4 separate regions of the Homo sapiens genome follow, and regions 1, 3 and 4 are each linked to region 2. Evidence: promoter capture Hi-C in human tissues and cell types (Jung and others, 2019). All regions are on one chromosome and are shown on one strand. Each heading gives the region's core, a stretch centred on a gene start or on the middle of the fragment in contact. The rest is flanking DNA. Distances are from core to core; before and after follow the strand shown.

The links. The method cuts DNA at HindIII sites, captures the fragments that hold promoters and counts their contacts. A contact is called where the count stands out against the background at its distance.
Region 1: a contact is called between a fragment that was not itself captured here and the fragment with the promoter of UBXN7 in region 2, in 8 of the 25 tissues and cell types used here (H1 embryonic stem cells, IMR-90 fibroblasts, bladder and 5 more).
Region 3: a contact is called between a fragment that was not itself captured here and the fragment with the promoter of UBXN7 in region 2, in 1 of the 25 tissues and cell types used here (aorta).
Region 4: a fragment that was not itself captured here is called in contact with the fragment with the promoter of UBXN7 in region 2 in 1 of the 25 tissues and cell types used here (IMR-90 fibroblasts).

What each region holds. Positions count from the first base shown.
Region 1 is chr3:196,269,692-196,272,764 of GRCh38, reverse strand. It overlaps PCYT1A (phosphate cytidylyltransferase 1A, choline), which reads left to right. Exons shown (of 9, transcript NM_001312673.2): 2 at 2,224-2,350. The coding sequence starts at 2,234. Among named protein-coding and RNA genes, the nearest start is that of PCYT1A, 16 kb to the left of the region's middle. The HindIII fragment of the contact is 3,023 bases long and covers 1-2,857 here.
Region 2 is chr3:196,430,730-196,433,721 of GRCh38, reverse strand. It overlaps UBXN7 (UBX domain protein 7), which reads left to right and starts at 1,295. Exons shown (of 11, transcript NM_015562.2): 1 at 1,295-1,395. The coding sequence starts at 1,323. UBXN7-AS1 (UBXN7 antisense RNA 1) reads right to left here and starts at 2,337. Exons shown (of 2, transcript NR_046745.1): 1 at 2,281-2,337; 2 at 688-1,520. RefSeq lists enhancers at 978-1,057, 990-1,763, 2,138-2,187, 1,764-2,538 and silencers at 1,098-1,347, 1,368-1,427. The HindIII fragment of the contact is 10,299 bases long and covers 1-2,992 here.
Region 3 is chr3:196,604,533-196,607,616 of GRCh38, reverse strand. No RefSeq gene overlaps it. Among named protein-coding and RNA genes, the nearest start is that of LINC01063, 27 kb to the left of the region's middle. The HindIII fragment of the contact is 4,213 bases long and covers 1-3,084 here.
Region 4 is chr3:196,561,624-196,564,718 of GRCh38, reverse strand. The region is part of intron 2 of WDR53 (WD repeat domain 53); the gene reads left to right. Among named protein-coding and RNA genes, the nearest start is that of WDR53, 5.4 kb to the left of the region's middle. RefSeq lists an enhancer at 394-1,593. The HindIII fragment of the contact is 7,147 bases long and covers 1-3,095 here.

The sequences.
Region 1 (3,073 bases), core at 97-2,596, 160 kb after region 2:
TGCTAAATGAGACAATAATAAATAAGTTCCTTTGGGGGAAGGAGAATCCCTGAGGGGGTTTTAATAGCTGGAAACTGTGAACAAGCTTGAGGTGTTAAGACCCTGAAAGAGGAAAGGGAAATGAGTACTGAGAAAAGAAGGGGAAGGGCCAGGTGCAGTGGTTCACACCTGTAATTCCAGCACTTTGGGAGGTCGAGGTGGGTGGATCACCTGAGGTCAGGAGTTCAAGACCAGCCTGGCCAACATGACAAAACCCTGTCTCTACTAAAAATACAAAAATTGGCTAGGCGCCATGGCTCACGCCTGTAATTTCAGCACTTTTGGAGGACGAGGCAGGTGGATCACGAGGTCAGGTGTTCGAGACCAGCCTGGCCAACATAGGGAAACCCTGTCTCTACTAAAAATACAAAAAATTAGCCAGGCGTGGTGGTGGGTGCCTGTAATCCCACCTACTCAGGAGGCTGAGGCAGGAGAATCGCTTGAACCTGGGAGGCGGAGGTTGTAGTGAGCCGAGATGGTGCCACTGCACTCTAGCCAGGGTGACGGAGTGAGACTCTTTCTCAAAAAAAAAAAAAAGGAAAGAAGGAGAAGGACATTTAAAAAATACATTATGCTGGTCCTAGCTATTCTGGAGGCTCAGATGGGAGGATTGCTTAAGCTCAGGAGTTTGAGGCTACAGTGTGCTATGATTATGGCTGTGAGAGCCGAGATCGTGCCACTGCACTCTAGCCAGGGTGACAGAGTGAGACTCTTTCTCAAAAAAAAAAAAAAGGAAAGAAGGAGAAGGACATTTAAAAAATACATTATGCTGGTCCTAGCTATTCTGGAGGCTCAGATGGGAGGATTGCTTAAGCTCAGGAGTTTGAGGCTACAGTGTGCTATGATTATGGCTGTGAGAGCCGAGATCGTGCCACTGCACTCTAGCCAGGGTGACAGAGTGAGACTCTTTCTCAAAAAAAAAAAAAAGGAAAGAAGGAGAAGGACATTTAAAAAATACATTATGCTGGTCCTAGCTATTCTGGAGGCTCAGATGGGAGGATTGCTTAAGCTCAGGAGTTTGAGGCTACAGTGTGCTATGATTATGGCTGTGAGAGCCGAGATCGTGCCACTGCACTCTAGCCAGGGTGACACAGTGAGACTCTTTCTCAAAAAAAAAAAAAGGAAAGAAGGAGAAGGACATTTAAAAAATACATTATGCTGGTCCTAGCTATTCTGGAGGCTCAGATGGGAGGATTGCTTAAGCTCAGGAGTTTGAGGCTACAGTGTGCTATGATTATGGCTGTGAGTAGCCACTGCGCTCCAGCCTGGACAACCTAGCAAGACCCCTAAAAAAATAAAAACAATAAAAAAGTAAATAAAAACCATTATGCTACTCCACAATTTTCATGCAAGTAACTCTGGTGAAGTGGTCACTGAAATCTATAGAACTTTTAGAGTTAAGAAATTCACTCAGTGATGTGGTTCATGCCTGTCATCCCAAGTCTTTGGGAGTTTGAGTTGGGAGGATCACTTGAGGCCAGGAATTCAAGACCAGCCTGGGCAACATAGCGAGGCCTGTCTCTTAAAAAAAAAAATAACTAGGTGTGGTGGCATGTGCCTGTAGTCCCAACTACTTGGGAGGCTGGGGCAAGAGGATCGCTTGAGCTAACGAGGTTGAAGCTGCAGTGAGGCAAGATCATACCACTGCACCCCAGCCTGGGCAACAGAGTGAGACCCCGTCTTAAAAAAAATTAGAGTTAAGAAATCCGTGTTTTGTTAATCCAGGACTTGGTGAGAGCCATCCGTTTACAAAAGGCTCTTTTCTCTACCTGCACCAGTCATACCTTCACATTGCCTTATACCTGTCATATCGATGATGCGGAGGATAGTGGGAGAGTCTGTGTAACTATCTTTCTCAGCCAAATTATTCCAATCTTTTGCATGCAATCAGGATTTAAAATGAGCAGTTAGTATGTAGGCTGCACTGTGAGGGGGAATGACTTCCGACTTCAGGCAATTCACTGTGGCCATTGTTGCACAGAGAGGCGTTTCAGTATTTCTACTAGAGCCTGTGTTTTGTGAAGCTTCGCTGGTTTTGCCAGATGCCATTGGCTCATCTTGGTGAAGTGCAGCTGTAGAATTGGTATTTTGCTGAGTGTATCCACGTCAACGTCTCTGAAATACTGGTGACAAACTTTTTCCCACCCCAATGAGAAAATTTTTGTTTTCACTTTCTATGACCAGTTAAAAGAAGATGGATGCACAGTGTTCAGCCAAGGTCAATGCAAGGAAGAGGAGAAAAGAGGCGCCCGGACCCAACGGGGCAACAGAAGAAGATGGGGTTCCTTCCAAAGTGCAGCGCTGTGCAGTGGTAAGTGGAGATTAACCTGGCAGGGGGAGGGTAGAAACCGATATGACATTGATGATATCAGTGTTACATGTCTTCTGAAATAATGAAAAGAAGGAATAGTAAGTGTATTTTCACAGTCACTGGAAATCTGCTGCCTTTTTACTGGATTATGACTCACAGCTCAGTTGTAGAAGCTTTACATTGGGTTTAGAAAAAGAAGTGTTAGGAAAATATGGAAGTTGCATGTGTATTAGGCTGAAACTATTGAAATATGGCCAGGTGCGGTGACTCATACCTGTAATCCCACACTTTGGGAGGCTGAGGTGGGAGGATCACCTGAGGTCAGGAGTTTGAGACCAGCCTGGTGAAACCCTGTCTTTACTAAAAATACAAAATTAGCCGGGCGTGGTGGCGCATGCCTGTAATCTCAGCTGCTTGGGAGGCTGAGGCATGAGAATTGCTTGAACTCGGGAGGCGGAGGATGCGGTGAGCCGAGATTGCACCATTGCATTCCAGCCTGGGCAACAGAGACAGACCCTATCTCAAAAATAAAAATAAAAAGTAAATAAACAAATAAATAAAACTAATGAAATAGAAAAATTGGGGCTCTAGGCAGTGATTTGATCTTCGTATCATCTCATGGTGTCTAGTGCGTCTTTTCTGCTGTTTTTTCTCCCTCTATCATTCCTCCATCCTGTTACTAGTTGTATCTTAGATGAGAACCTTTTTCCGTTTATGCCTACC
Region 2 (2,992 bases), core at 46-2,545:
AGAGCGAGACTCCCTGTCAAACAAAACAAAACAAAAAACTATACCCCTTGATTTGACATGGCTCTTTCTTAATTCTCCCCAATAGCATGTTTACTCTTAGGATGTGTCAATTCTTCAGACAGCTCATCCCATCTTTTATTGGGCCATTTTCCTATGAAGATGCAAAATATGTGGGTGGAGGTTGGAAGGTGGGAGGCTAAAACAAACGGAATCACTTGGAATCTCTTTTAACTTTATGGGCAAGGTGGGGGATTATTGGATTTGAGCGCACCCCACTCATGTAACTGTTTTGCAAAATACTTAAAATTATTCAAGGAACACACGAATATCTTTTTTTTTTTTTTTTTTTTGAGATGGATTCTTGATATATTTCCCAGTCTGGTCTCGAACTCCTTGCCTCAAGCGATTCTCCCACCTCGGCCTTCCAAAGTGCTGGGATTACAGTCATGAGCCACCGCGCCCGGCCAATAATGTTTGTTTAAAAATAAAAAGATAAATAAGAAACTCGAAGTAAGGTCCGCTTTGACCATCGTCCCGATCGTTCTCTTCTCTGGAGGTAACCGTTACCAGCGTTTTGAGCACACTTTTCCAGTCTCCTTTCTATATGTTTTCTTTCCTCTACTGCATATACAGAGTTTCTTTTTATACAAATGACGCCTCTTGGGGTCTCATTAAGACCCTAACGGGAGACGTGATGGCCAATTTATTTAAGGAAAGCAGACTAAACAATCGTTTATGAAAACCTACTGGGTGGCAACCCCGCGCTAAGTGCTTTCTTTGGCATGAAGGGTTCTGGTATTTCACTCGTCGCAATCGGTTAGCTAAGCCATTAGTTTAGAGGCTGGGGGGCGAGTACGGGGAGAGTCGCTTCAAAGCGAGGAGGTAGGGTTTGCATTTTGATGGGACCTGCAGGAAACCTAATAGAGTGCGGTACAACCGCAAAACAGAAAAATGCTGTCATCGGCAGTTGGCTCTGTCAATAAAGCTTGCGAAGCTGAAATGCGAAGAACTATCTGCCGAGACCGAAGCTTCCTTCGGAATCTAGGAATCGACACCGCGCCTGCGAGGCTAGCCTTGGAGCCCGGAGAGGAAGGCACCAGCAATGGCAAAAAGGATGCACTGAGCAGGCAGCAACCGAGCAGCCAACCCGAGAGCTGGGAGCGCGCGGGCCCGGTCGGAAAATGCGCCTGCGCAGACCGCTGGGGACGGGAGGGGCGGGGCTCGAGGGGCGGTCAATGCGCCTGCGCACACCGCACGGCGAAGTGGGGGAGGGCAGTCCGTGTGTGTCTGTGTTGTTGTTCGGCGGCGGCGGCGGCGGTAAGATGGCTGCCCACGGGGGCTCCGCGGCGTCCTCGGCGCTGAAGGGGTTAATTCAACAGTTCACCACCATTACCGGTAAGAGACGCGGTTACCGGAAGGTGGAGAGTGGGGTCCGGAGCGGGCAGCGGGTCTGCCCCGGGCTTCCCCTTACCTTCAGGCATTCCTCCTTCGGGCTTTACCCACAGCTGCCGTCCTCCCTCCTGAGGAAGAGGCGACGACGGCGTCGGGGTCTCCGGGTTCAGGCGGGAGACAGCCCCCCCCCGCTCCCGATACCCTCGTTCTCTGTCTCCTAGTAGCGTGGAGGGAGATCCCCCAACCCCCCGCCAGCCCAGACCTGGGAATGGGCCGAGTCCGTCCGCCCCCGCCGGCCCGGGGACCCGGGGGCGGGAGGAGTAGGGGGCCGCACCCGGGCCACCGCCCTCCTCCTCCTCCTTCATCATCTTCCCTTCTCTGTGCAGCCCTGCGGTGCGGTGCATCTCCTCACCTCCTTTTTTCCTTTCTTCCCCGGCCAGGTCATTCTGCCCCGGTCCCCGGCCTGCCCTTCCCCTTTCTGGGCCCCTCGGAGCCATCGCCGTGGCCCTGGCGGGTTCGGGCCCTCCCGCCTTCACGGCAAGGCCGGTGGGTTCGGCCGTGCCTTTACACTTCACGGGGGACAGGCCGCCAGAAGCGGGGGGTGCTGAGGAGGACCTCAGGGACTGAGGCTTTGAGGGAAGAATGAGGGGGAACCCCCAAGCTGAATAGGGGAGGCCTGGAAGAATCCAGGGTGGCGTTTCCCACCTCCCCATAATAAAATCATAAAGACGGAGACGATGGCGCCGGGGCCTCCTGCTGATAAGATAGGGATGGCGGCAGAAACTTCTTTGAGAGAAAATCTGTTTCTGGGTGTCGGTATCCCCGAAACCCTAGGCCTAGGTTCTCTCCCTTTGGACCCCTGCGAAGGACACACGCAGATCCTCTTACCGCCTGGAGGAAAGGCCCTAAAGCCATTCTATGAATTCTCTCTGTCTTGTTTCTCTCTGATGGTGCTGAACTTTTCTTGCATGAGTTATTAGAGGGCGGAGCAAATGATGAAGTTCTCTGTGGAGTGATTTGAGAGAAGAGTACTCCAATGTGCCTGAGTGTAATTTTGCCGTTCTAGTTTGTCGTTTTGGAAGGAGGTCAGAATGTTAGTTCCCTCTCAACGGATCTATACTTTATCTCGTAATTTGTTAGATGCGGAGAATGTTTCCACTGTTAATGTTCCTAGAGTTTAACGTGCAATATCTGGTTAAGTAAAATTTTATATTGTTTTAACTACTACAGGTTGTATACTAGTTACCGTTTTATATTAAAGCAAGTTTTATTTTTTTGCTTTGCAATGATAACGAGATATTTGACGCATTGTTATCTAGCTTGTGGGCATGGAACATCAGGTCAAAGTAAAGTAAAATTTGCAATAAAATTGGGGTGAGGAGTTGCATGATAACTTCTCTTAATATTTTTGAACTTTGTGATTGGATTATTGAAGATATAAAGGATTGGATTATTATATTAAATATGTAAAGGATTTCCTAATGTCTGACAAATCATTGCTATGGAGAAGATTATTGTGTATATAAGTTAGTGTTGCTGCATTATGCTTATATAGAAAAATCTTTGCAGTGAATCTGATAGAGAAGTGAATATCATTATT
Region 3 (3,084 bases), core at 521-3,020, 170 kb before region 2:
ATATTTGTTGCCTTGATCTACTAAACACTCAGCTAACAGACCTAAAGCTACGTCCTCTAACCTGGTCGCTACCAGCAATAAAGATAATATTTTGGCCTCTACAGGGGCCAAACCCAAGCAGAGAACCCTATCTTTTTATTGGATCTTCAAAGACAATATTGAATGACATAAAAGATGATGAAGATATGCTACAGTCATGGATGAGAATGCATTTCATCATAAAGATACCAATTCTTCCCAAGTCTATTGATTCAACATGCATATTGATTTATATTTTCAATTTTCAATAAAAATCCCAACAGAACTTCCAGGTGACTTCACAAGGTACGTTCTAAAATCTATATAGAAGAGTAAAGGGCCAAGAATAACCAAAACAATTTTTTAAAACCAAAAGTTTGAGGGAATTGCTCTTTCAAAATGAAGACTGGGGCTGGGCACCCTGGCTTATGCTTGTAATCCCAGCACTTTGGGAGGCCAAGGCAGGCGGATTGCGTGAGCCCAGGAGTTCAAGACCACCCTGGGCAATGTGGTGAAACCCTGTCTGTACAAAAAAATGCAAAAAAATTAGCCAGCATAGTGGTGTGTGCATGTAGTCCCAGCTACTTGGGAGGCTGAGGTGGGAGGATCACTTGAGCCAAGGAGTTCAAGATCAGGAGTTGGGCCCAGGAGACAGAGGCTGCGGTGAGCCGTGATCACAGGGCTCATGCCTGTAATCCCAGCCTACGATCCCAGGAAGATCACTTGAGATCTGGAATACGAGCTCAGCCTTGGCAACATAGTGAGACTCCAGCCCTAGAAAAAAGCTTATTTAAAACATTATAAAAGATCTATAAAAAGGATTGACCAGGTGTCATGGTGCACACCTGAAGTCCCAGCTACTAGGGAGGCTGAGATGGGAGGATTTCTTGAGCCCAAGAGTTCAAGGGTACAGTGAGCTATGGCCATGCCACTGTACCACAGCCTGGGTGACAGACCAAGACCGTGACTCTAAAACAAAACAAAAACCCTAAGATTGATTATAAAGTGAGAACAACTAAGAGTGTATAGTACTAGCCTATGTGTAGACAAAGAGGCCAAAAGAATCAGACAGTCCAGGAGCTGGCCCATGTATATGTACATATGGAAACTTGATATGTGACAGAGGAGGCACTGTAAATCAATGGAAGCATAAGCTATTCAATAAATAGGAGCAGGATACAATATTAACAGTATGTATTTAATAATGAAATTTCTACTTTCTCCATAACAAAAATAAATTCTAGATAGATTAAAAACCTATATTAAAAATGTTTTAAAGACTATTTCTCCTTTTGTTTTACAGATATGGACAGAAGCCTCAAAATACCTTTTATGCCTTTCATGGCCCATGATGCAAACTTGTCACGATGTTGTCAACTAATACAAGCCCTGGGTCGGAAAGCCTGTTTAATAAATCGCCAGGGCCAGAGGTGTAATGCAGAGGGATAAACAAGTTTGTTAAGTGGATGACCCTTGTGAGTCTTTTTTCAGGTAACCTAGCAATAAGCTGGCTCTTCAGGGAGGGCCACAAACCCCCTCATGTATAAACTGTCTGGATTATTGGGTTGTTTCTAACATTATTTCTTAGGCCAGAAAGGCTGAAACCTGAATTGCAAAGACACCTTGGTCAGATGATCTCTGATTCCTCCATAATTCTTTTTTTTTTTTTTGGAGACAGAGTCTTGCTCTGTTGCCCAGGCTGGAGTGCATTGGTGTGATCTCGGCTCACTGCGAGCTCTGCCTCCCAGGTACAAGCAGTTCTCCTGCCTCAGCCTCCCGAGTGGCTGGGATTACAGGTGCCCACCACCACGCATGAATAATTTTTGTATTTTTAGTAGAGACGGGGTTTCACCATGTTGGCCAGACTGGTCTTGAACTCCTGACTTCAGGTGATCCACCTGCCTCAGCCTCCCAAAGTGTTGGGATTACAGGCGTGAGCCACGGCGCCTGCCCTCCATAATACTTTATAAATGCGTGAGACAACAAGGAATTTTATATTCCCTCTCTTGTACAGAACACATGATGTGTCCAGCTATGCCTAGCCTAAGCACTCTTCCCCATGAAATGGTGAGAATCTTGGGCACTATATGCATCCCCTCACACCTGCAGGTTGAAACATACCTGTACCATGTGTTATTTTTGCTGCTTGCCCTCGTCCCTTGCTTGATAAACAGAAATATTGATGGTGATGAACAATGAGGCAATATCTAACAAAGGCGGAGATGAGCATAAGCCAGAACTTGAGAATGCCGCTTCTCATAATGTATATTCTAGAGACTAGAGCACATACATACAGAATTCATTCCAGCTTTGTTTGTAATCACAAATTGGAAACAACCTAAATGGTCGTGAACAGAAGAATTGATAGACGGTAGTATGTTGGTGAAATGGAATACTGTACGGCAGCGGTCCCCAACCTTTCTGGCACTAGGGACCCGTTTCCTGGAAGACCATTTTTTCATGGACTGGGGGTGGGGGATGGTTTGGGATGATTCAAGTGCATCACATTTATTGTGCACTTTATTTCTATTATTATTACGTTGTAAGATATAATGAAATAATTATACAACTCAGCATAATGTAGAATCAGTGGAGCCCTGCACTTGTTTTCCTGCAACTAGACGGTTCCATCTGGGGATGATGGGAAACACTGATGGATCATCAGGCATTAGATTCTCATAGGGAGCATGCAGCCTAGATCCCTCATATGCTCAGTTCACAATAGGGTTCACATAGCTATGAGTATCTAGTGCCGGCGCTGATCGGACAGGAGGCGGAGCTCAAGCAGTAATGCGAGTGATGGGGAGCGGCTGTCAATACAGATGAAGCTTCACTTGCTCACCCGCCTGCTGCTCCCCTCCTGCCGTGTGACGCAGTTTCCTAACAGGCTGTGCACCTGTGCTGGGGTTTGGGGACCTCTGCTGTACAGCAATTAAAAAAGAAGTAACAGTTCTATGTTTAGGAATGGATAAATCACAAGAACACGAAGTTGCAGGAGGACATAAACGGTTCGTGGCACACACGCATGTGTATATATCCTGTATATGGTTTAGAAATATGCAAAAA
Region 4 (3,095 bases), core at 335-2,834, 130 kb before region 2:
ATTAAAACTATAACTTGGCAAAAAAGTGATCGACATTCTAAAGATTTGAAAGCATTGGCTGGGTGCAGTGGCTCATGCCTGTGATGCCAGCACTTTGAGAGGCTGAGACGGGAGGATCACTTGAGCCCAGGAGTTCAAGAACAGCCTGGGGAATGTGGGGAAACCTCATCTCTACAAAAAAAATACAAAAAATTAGGTGGGTTTGGTGGTGAGAGCCTGTAGTTCCAGCTACTCAGGAGGCTAAGGCGGGAGGATCACTTGAGCCTGGGGAGGTCAAGGCCTGCATGACAGAGCAAGACCCTGTCTCAAAAAAAAAAAAAAAAGAAAAAAGAAAAAAAATTGAAATCGTTAAACAAAATTATTTGTAACTTAAATTGACTTTTCAATACTCAATTCAAATTTGTAGGATAGCATCTTTATCATGAGGTAAGTCAGTATTACAGTTCCTAAGCCTAAATACTATCAGTGCCTTTCGTTTAAAATCTAGGTTTATCTGGAACTTTTGGCAACAGTCTTCGTTACGGCATATTTACCTGCTGCTGTTTCAGTACTTGTCAGCAAAAATCAAACCACCAGGGCTCCCTGTTTTTACCTCCCTCTGAGTCATTTCCTCTCCAATTCTCTCCTTTAAATATTATTGCTTCAGTCTCCAGTTAGTTTCCTCTGTATATTAGTTGAGTGCTTCTGCTTGAAAACAAAAGTTTAATTTTGTTTTTTATTTTGTTATTTTTATGAACATTTCTGTATTTGATTTTGTGATCACGTTTCCGTTACCTTGATTACTAATAGATCAGTGATTTTTTTGCAGTCTAATTAGTGATCGTATGTGTGACTAAAAGTAGGGGGAGGCTGGGTGCGGTGACGCACGCCTATAATCCCAGCACTTTGGGAGGCTGAAGTGGGTGGATCATGTAAGGTCAGAAGTTCAAGACCAGCCTGGCCAACATGGTGAAACCCTGTCTCTACTAAAAATGGAAAAGTTAGCCTGGCGTGGTGGCAGGCGTCTATAATCTCAGCTACTTGGGAGGCTGAGGCAGGAGAATCGCTTAAACATAGGAGGCAGAGGTTGCAGAGAGCTGAGATTGTGCCATTGCACTCCAACCTGGGCGACAGAGCAAGACTCCGTCTCAAAAAAAAAAAAAAGCTTTGTGTTGGGAATGGAAACTTTGGGCAGATTGCCAGATTATTTTAAATGATTTTATCTCTGTACCACTGGGCTAAATTCAAGTATCTTATCTGAAAATAGCACAACAGCTCTGGGGGCTGGCACTCGGGTAAGCTCTCCTTTCGCTTATGAAATGAAAAATTAAATTTGTCCAGGTAGATTTATTTGCTTCCTTTTGTCTTGACCAAGATTAGAGTTGTATAAATTGCCCTGATTTCCTTTTTGCCTTGACCAGCAGGCGGGCACGGCAGGCCGGTATTATGTGGCATTTCCAGTGTGTGTATATCTGGGATTCCTAGAGGATGAGAAATCTAAATTTTACACTGTTGTGTAAGTGCAGGTAGATGATAATATGATTAAACATATGTGAGTACATTTTCAAGCACTGATGACTTACTAGTAACTTTTGGTCATTTTCTGTTTCTTCAAAGAATAATAACAAAACTGTTGTCAGGTGGAGTTGTTAGAAAAGGACCTTCATTATTTAAATATTTGGAGCCTGGGCAACATAGGGAGACCCCGACTTTGCAAAAAAAAATTTAATAAAATAAAAATTAGCCAGGCATGGTGGTGCACATAAGTGGTCTGAGCTACTCAGGAGACTGAGGTGGGAGGATTGCTTAGGCCTGGGAGGTCAAGGCTGCAGTGAGCCACGATTGTGCCACTGCACTGCAGCCTGGGTGACAGAGCAAAACCCTGTCTCAAAACAAAAACAAAACATTTGGGATCTGTTACAAATCCTAAGAGTCAAGTGACCTTGGGAAAATTATTTAACATTTCTGAGACTCGGTTTTATTATCCCTAAAATGGAATAATACCAATCAAAAGGGTTGTTTTGAGATAAAATTAGATAACCTACTGAATAAGTGTCTGGTGGGGAGACCAAGGGCCTGCCATTTTCACCATTTCCCCAGGTGGTCATTAGTTTAATACAGATTCTGCAATTCCACTGTACATCAGGATCACCTGGAGGACTTACTAAAACACATTGCAGCCGGGCGTGGTGGCTCACGCTTATAATCCCAGCACTTTGGGAGGCCAAGGTGGGTGGATCACCTGAGGTCAGGAGTTTGAGACCAGCCTGGCCAACATGGTGAAACCCCGTCTCTACTAAAAATACAAAAATTAGCCAGGCATGGTGCCGGGTGCCTGTTATCTCAGCTACTCGGGAGGCTGAGGCAGGAAAATTGCTGGAACCCGGGAGGCGGAGGTTGCAGTGAGCCGAGATCATCCATTGCAGTCCAGCCCGGGCTAACGGCAGCGAGACTCCATCTCAGAAAACAAAACAAAACAACAACAACAAAAACACACTGCTTGGTCTCACCCCCATTTTCAGATTCAGTAGATCTAGGGTTGGGTCTGACAATTTGCATTTCTGACAAGTTCCTAGGGGATGCTGATGCTGCTAGTGTGGAGACCACACTTTGAGAGTACTGGTGCAGTGTATGTAATGCCGCTTTGCACCGGCCTAATAAAAATCGAAAAAGTAACAATAGCAATGCTTGTTGAGGATTCATTATGTATCAGGCACTATTATGTGTGATTTACATATATTATGATCCTATGAAATGAGTGTCATTATTATCCTCATTTTATAGAGAAGAAAAGTGGGTGACAGGTTCAGTAATTTGCCCAGTCCCCTAGCTACTGCAAACCTGGAGAGCCTAGCTGCAGAGCTCACCATCTAAAACATTATTCAGATAAGAGGCATAACCTGATGATTTTGCAGCCCTCTCTTTAAAATAATTTTTCTTAATTTAAAATATGTAGTGTTTATTCTTCTGTGGGTTCCATATGAAAGACTGGAGGACTGGCCTTACCTAGATCCCTGATGGCAAAGGAAGCCCACTGAAGTATTTGCCAGCCAGGATACAACCCTGTGTTCAGCTAGGCTTTTGGAGATGTGATCTTTAAGTGTCTTTTTTTTTTT